2 separate regions of the Homo sapiens genome follow, and region 1 is linked to region 2. The links are contacts of gene promoters, found by promoter capture Hi-C in blood cells and fetal thymus (Javierre and others, 2016). All regions are on one chromosome and are shown on one strand. The core of a region is centred on a gene start or on the middle of the fragment in contact, and the rest is flanking DNA. Distances in the headings are between cores, read along the strand shown. Region 1 has its middle 12 kb from the start of DEFB136. Region 2 holds the start of FDFT1 (farnesyl-diphosphate farnesyltransferase 1).

What was found. Contacts are between HindIII fragments. The CHiCAGO score rates a contact against its expected background, and 5 or more counts as called.
Region 1: a contact is called between a fragment that was not itself captured here and the fragment with the promoter of FDFT1 in region 2, in 2 of 17 cell types (monocytes and M2 macrophages). The highest score is 6.7, in monocytes.

What each region holds. Positions count from the first base shown.
Region 1 is chr8:11,961,390-11,964,273 of GRCh38, reverse strand. No RefSeq gene overlaps it. Among named protein-coding and RNA genes, the nearest start is that of DEFB136, 12 kb to the left of the region's middle. The HindIII fragment of the contact is 1,148 bases long and covers 886-2,033 here.
Region 2 is chr8:11,801,340-11,804,357 of GRCh38, reverse strand. It overlaps FDFT1 (farnesyl-diphosphate farnesyltransferase 1), which reads right to left and starts at 1,617. Exons shown (of 8, transcript NM_004462.5): 1 at 1,427-1,617. The coding sequence starts at 1,525. LOC105379243 (a long non-coding RNA gene) reads left to right here and starts at 3,003. Exons shown (of 3, transcript XR_948962.4): 1 at 3,003-3,018. RefSeq lists silencers at 1,239-1,358, 1,569-1,818 and enhancers at 1,889-2,048, 2,086-2,827, 2,828-3,018. The HindIII fragment of the contact is 12,361 bases long and covers 1-3,018 here.

The DNA of each region.
Region 1 (2,884 bases), core at 210-2,709, 160 kb before region 2:
TGGAGGAATGCTTCCTCTTCTCTCTGTATCTATGTGCTTTCTGCTGTCCAGGTCCTCCTCCCTGAGCTGCCCGAGAGCTTCTGGGACCCAGGAAGTTTGGAGTCACCTTCACACGCATACTTAGGCCTCCCTGCATCACCCACCTGCAGAGTCAATCTCAATTCTCTAAGAGCTGCTGGAACCAGGAGGAGGGGCTGCCCAGTGTTCCCGGGTGGAACAGCCCTGAGGACATTTCTATGGGAATTTCCCGGGTACCCTGGAGGGAGACGATACCCTTTCCCACTGAGAGAAGAGGTTTGGGAAGGAAATGAGGGGGATGGGAAAGGTTCCAAAATGGAATCATCTGTGAGATCTCAAGGGAACAGGCTCAGATGTAAATTTCATCATCAGCTGATCATCTAGAGCCTGCCTGGAGTCAGCGGCAAGGCTGTTTCTCCAGATGCTGGGAGAGGGGGTGCTGATATTGAACATCTGCATCCCTGCTGTGAGTGGCCCCAACAGAGAGCCCCCAAGGGCCTTGGCCATCACTGCCCCCTGCATCCGGAGCCCTCCCCAGGACCCATGAGCCCCCAGCTGAGTGTCCAGGGAGCCGAGGAACTGCACCTGAAGGCCTCTCCCAACAGCACTCTTGAGCGAGGCCCTCACCCACAGAGCACGGCAGGATTCATGAGCTGCTTTCACATAACGTGGACAGAGTTCATTATTCCATTTTCTTTTAGAGAAGGAAACCGCAGCTCAGACAGTAAAATGATCTATACAAAGCCATATAGCTAGTGAGTAGGGGAGCTGGGAGTCCAGGCAGCTGTCCTGACTCGCAGTCTAGCGCTCTTTCCATTCGAATGCAGTGAAAAAAGAAGAACCAGGTTGATTATTTTGGCCTAAGCTTTATCATCTATTAAAAGCTAATCCCAACCCCATCTCCCCAAACTCTTGCTGCCCGGAATGTGTCCAGAAAGTACTCATGGGCTCAAAGATCGAACTTCCAGGGAAGAGAGATGGACATTGCAATTTCTGCCGAGAACCTCAGGACACATATTCCACATCCAACCCTGGGGACCTCCCAAGACAAGTGAGCTCGCTCCTCTTCTCAGCCCTCACTCTGCTCCGATCTCCAGGCTAAAGCACCCAGCTGCGTTGATTCCCAGGACACTACTCAGAGCTGTGTCTGAGCGGCCCCCACTCCTGCTGCACTCCCATTTGTTTCAAGCAGGATATTTCACATCTGGTCCTGCCCGAAGACAGAGAAAGAATGGGATGCTCTTGTCTCTAATCTCAGATTCCAAAATTCCATGAATACAGCTTGAGACCAAACTCATTTTGTGGGAGTTCACACCACTGACTACTCATATGAATTTTCCATCTACAAAAGCCAGTCATGCTTTGTCTCAAAGATGGTAATTAACCTTTACCTTCCCAAAATGGATGCTTATGGTACTGATTTTGGTTTTACCTGAGGGTGCAACCTTCCATTTATCCCAGTTTGACTTCATTTTATTAGACTTGGCCTCTCATGCCAACCTGTTGAGATCGTCTAGGTTTCAGATTCTGCCACCCTCTGGCGTGGCAAGAAACTCATTGTAGGGATGGGAGAGATGGACAGCACCTCTCCCAGGATTTTTTTCTTTAAGAGACAGAGTCTTGTTCTGTCACCCAGGCTGGAGTGCAGTGGCACCATCATGGCTCACTGCAGCCTCAATCCTCTGGGCTCAAGCAATCCTCCCATCTCAGCCTCCTGAGTAGCTAGGACTACAGGTGTGCACGACCATGCCTGGTTAAATTTTAATTTTTTATAGAGATGGGGGGAGGGTCTCACTATGTTGCCCAAGAAGGTCTCAAACTCCTGGCCTCAAGTGATCCTTCTGCCTCAGCCTCATGAAATGCTGCGTTTGGATTACTATTATTTTGGTAGAGAGGTGCAACCAGCTAGGCTTAGGGAACGCCTGTACCCCGCGACTTCATCCTGGGATCCCTGTCTTGAGTTGTGTAAGTTTGGGGCAACAATGAGTAAACTATGAGGTGGGGGAGGTCAAGCTTTATAGGCTTCTGCCCTTGTCTACTGCTGGTTACTTCCTCCTTCACCGGAGCACCTGCCACCCCACTCTCAGCAACGTTCATCTCGAAGAGGCTGAGACAAGCTGAATCCACAAAGGGAATCTCAATTGTAAGGATCAACAAACTTTTTCTGTGAAGGCCAGAGAGTAAATATTGTAGGCTTTGCAGGGCATGCAGTCCACATCACAACTACTCAACTCTGTGATGGAGTCAAAGTAGCTGTAGACAATATATGTGTGAAGCCGTGTTTCAATAAAACTTTATTTATACAAACAGACAGTTGTCAGATTTAGCCCACAGGGTGCAATTTGCCAACTCCTACTCCACTGGGATATTTCAGCTGCTGTGGCCTACCACAGAGCGCCACACAGAGAAGCTTGCACCAAGACTCTGCCCTCAAGCAGCTTCTAATCTACACGTTTGTGAAAGATGAGTAAGTATAGGAAGGGGGAACATGTAATAATATTCTTTCATATCATCACAGCTTTTCCATTCACTCCTAGAGGGTTTACCCTGCACTCGCTGTGTGCCAGGCACTGTGCTCGGCCCGTGGGAAGGTAGAGATGAAGTCCCCACACTGCCCCAGGGAGTGCCCCATTCCCTCTGGAGCTGTGTGAACAAGGCTCTGGCCTTCTCTCCAGGAATACCAAAGGGAGCACAGAGACCAGAGGGCAAAGGAGGAACGGCAAAAATGGAGTGCCTAAATCACCTGCACACCTTCCGTCCTCAGCCCTCCGGTGTGACTTTGGATGACTTATGAGCTCTAAATCTCAGCTCCTCCTCCTATTTGAGGAAACAATGCTTATCCCCAAGGATTGTTATGAAGCTTAAA
Region 2 (3,018 bases), core at 368-2,867:
GACCACCCACTTTCCCTCCCAACAGGAAACCAATGCTACCATTTTCTCTAACAGTCTTTCTGTAGAAAGGAAAGAGACATAGAGGAATGAAGTCTGGACCCAAATGAGGTCTGACTGCACTCAGATCCCTTGCCCTGCTAGTATCTTCCTCTGCAGTGCTTTTCTCCACGTGAAAAACTGTACATTCGCTTTCTTAAATTGTCTCTCTTCCACTAAAAAGTAAGTTTTATAAAATCAAGGTCTTCACCTAGCTTGTTCACTGTTGTACCTCCAGCACCTAGAACACTATCTGATATACAACTGGTCGTCAAATATTTGTTAAATAAATGAATGCTATATCTAAATATAAAAAGTGACATCTGCCATATCAAATAATAGAAGTTATTCTGTAGCAAAATAATTCAAATAATGTAGCACCGGCAAAGAAAAGATGAAGAAAACTGAATGTTCTACAAATAGACTGAAGGATGTACCTGTATTAAAGATAGCACGTGAAAAATAACACCAAATGAGGGTGTAGTCTACTGGGGACAAAAACCAGAAATTTATTTTCTAGTGTGTTTACTGAAGCACATGGACACTGAAAGAAAGACTCCGATGTTCAGGCACCTATCAAGCCTCGGCCTGAGTCACATTTGCTACTGTCCTGTTGGCCCAAAAAAGTTACAGAAATCAGCCAGGCTGGTCCAGACCAGAAGAACTTGGCTGAATTTGTCTATTCATTCAATAATCGCGTACGAATAATTTTCTTGTTGGAATAAAAACACCTCCTATGCATTCATTAAACAAATAGTACAGGCATGAGGCAGATAAAAATCTAAGTAAAACCAAGTTCTGACCTTCCACCAACCACCTAGCTAATCCATAGACGTTAGATAACTCATTGGAACTTGGAAGCGTAGATAGGCGATTTTAAAACTCAGGAAGCACCGAGGATGAAGCGATGGAAGGCAGCAAGGCGGGGAGAGCTCCGGAAGAGGTGGTGAAACTGGAGGAGTCAGACTTCATTCCAGAAACGGCCTTCATGTGATGTTATCTGCATAGTTCATTCCGCTTACCAAAAAACTCACTCGTCCTCTCCCGCGTAACCCACCCACATTGCCTCAGATGTGTAACCCTCGGGTTAAAATACCGGTAAGCGCCGATGCTCACGGAGGGGACGAAACGGGGAGCGCAACCACCGGGAACCACGCAAAAGTCGCTCATGCCCAGGGCGGCTTGCGGGGGCAGGGACAGGTCAGCCAGGACGGCCGCGTCCACCCGGGCCCTACAGGGGGAAGGCTCGAGGAAAGGGGGACGGGAACACCCAGGCGTCGGCCCTGCTCGCCGCGCCCCTTGCCCCAGATCCGGGCCCGGCCGCTCAGGCCCTGAGGCCGGCCCAGCGAGCTCCTTCCCCGCCCCGGGCAAGCAGGGAGGCTCGGCCCACCTGGTCCATCTTGGGCATCACCTTCCGCTTGCCCCCGATCCGGAAGCGCACCAGGTTGTAGAACTCTTCGGGGTGGCCAAGGCATTTCACGAACTCCATCCTGGCGCAGGCGGCGGACTCCCGGGCGCGACTCTCACCTCTGCGGTCCCCAGGCGCTCACCGGCCGGCTGGACCTGTGGAGTAGGTGCTTCGAGGGGCTGGCCGGACAGGGGGCAGGCCTAGTACGGCGACGCCCCGCCCGCCGCTCCGCCCACTTCAACCGGCCTCGGCCGCCAGCGGGGCTAGCTGCGGCCTCGTGGGGTGGGCTGACGGGCGCTGATTGGCCAGGGCCGCTCACACTAGGAAGACCCCGGCCAATCAGTCGCGGAAGGAGACTGGCGTGATAACACTCTAGAAGCTCATTGGAGGCCGAGAAAGAGGCCGACGAGCGGGATTGGTGCCCTGATGGAGCCGGGCCTTTGTTTTCTTCCGCTTACCCCGGCTGGGAGCGCGAACGCTGTGGGGACTGGAGGTGAGGCGGTGGGGCTTAGGATGCGCAGGAGCCCAACGGTGGTCCGCAGTCGGGAGAGCAGTGCGGGGCTGCTTCCTCCCCACTTGGTCAATAAGTCGCCCACGTGTCCGGCCTCGGTGGCTCCTGCCAGCCGGGTGAGCTCTGCAGCCGCTCTCTGTAGAGCCTAAAACCGTGAAAAGGCCGGGCCAGCGCCAAGCTGGGCGTCTTTACTGTAACACACCCGAGCACAGCCCAGCTCGCCTGCCCGCCACCGCCATCCAGCCCCAGGGAGCCCCACACACTCCTGGAGCTTCAGCTGCCCCCTCTCTAGTGTTTACTTGAGATCCAGCTTAGTCCTAGAAAAAGGAGCTGAAGCCTTAGAGAGCCTGTAACAGGAATGTGGAAACTTCTCTCATCCTAGATCTCTCCAGCCCTAGAAACTACTGGCTACCCGTCCAGGCGTGGTGGCTCACGCCTGTAATCGCAACACTTTGGGAGGCCAAGGCGGGTGGATCACGAGGTCAAGAGATCGAGACCATCCTGGCCAACATGGTGAAACCCGTCTCTACTAAAAATACAAAAAAGCCGAGTGTGGTGGTGGGCGCCTGTAGTCCCAACTACTCCGGAGGCTGAGGCAGGAGAATCACTTGAACCCGGGAAGCGGAGTTTGCAGTGAGCCAAGATGACACCGCTGCACTCCAGCCAGGCCAACAGAGCAAGACTACGTCTCCAAAAAAAAAAAAAAACCTACTGGCTACCTAAGCCATCCTGCAGTCTGTTTTAACACAGCAACCAGTAATCCTTTTAAAACCTGTCAGGTCTAGCCGAGCGCGGTGGCTCATGCCTGTAATCCCAGCACTTTGGGAGGCCAAGGCGGGCGGATCACCTGAGGTCTGGAGTTCAAGACCAGCCTGGCCAACATGCTGAAACTGCGTCTCTACTAAAAATACAAAAATTAGCCAGGCATGGTGGCAGGCGCCTATAATCCCAGCTACCTGGGAGGCTGAGGCAGGAGAATCGCTTGAACACAGGAGGCAGAGGTTGCAGTGAGCTGAGATCGCGCTATTGCACTCCAGCCTGGGGGACAAGAGCGAGACTTCAT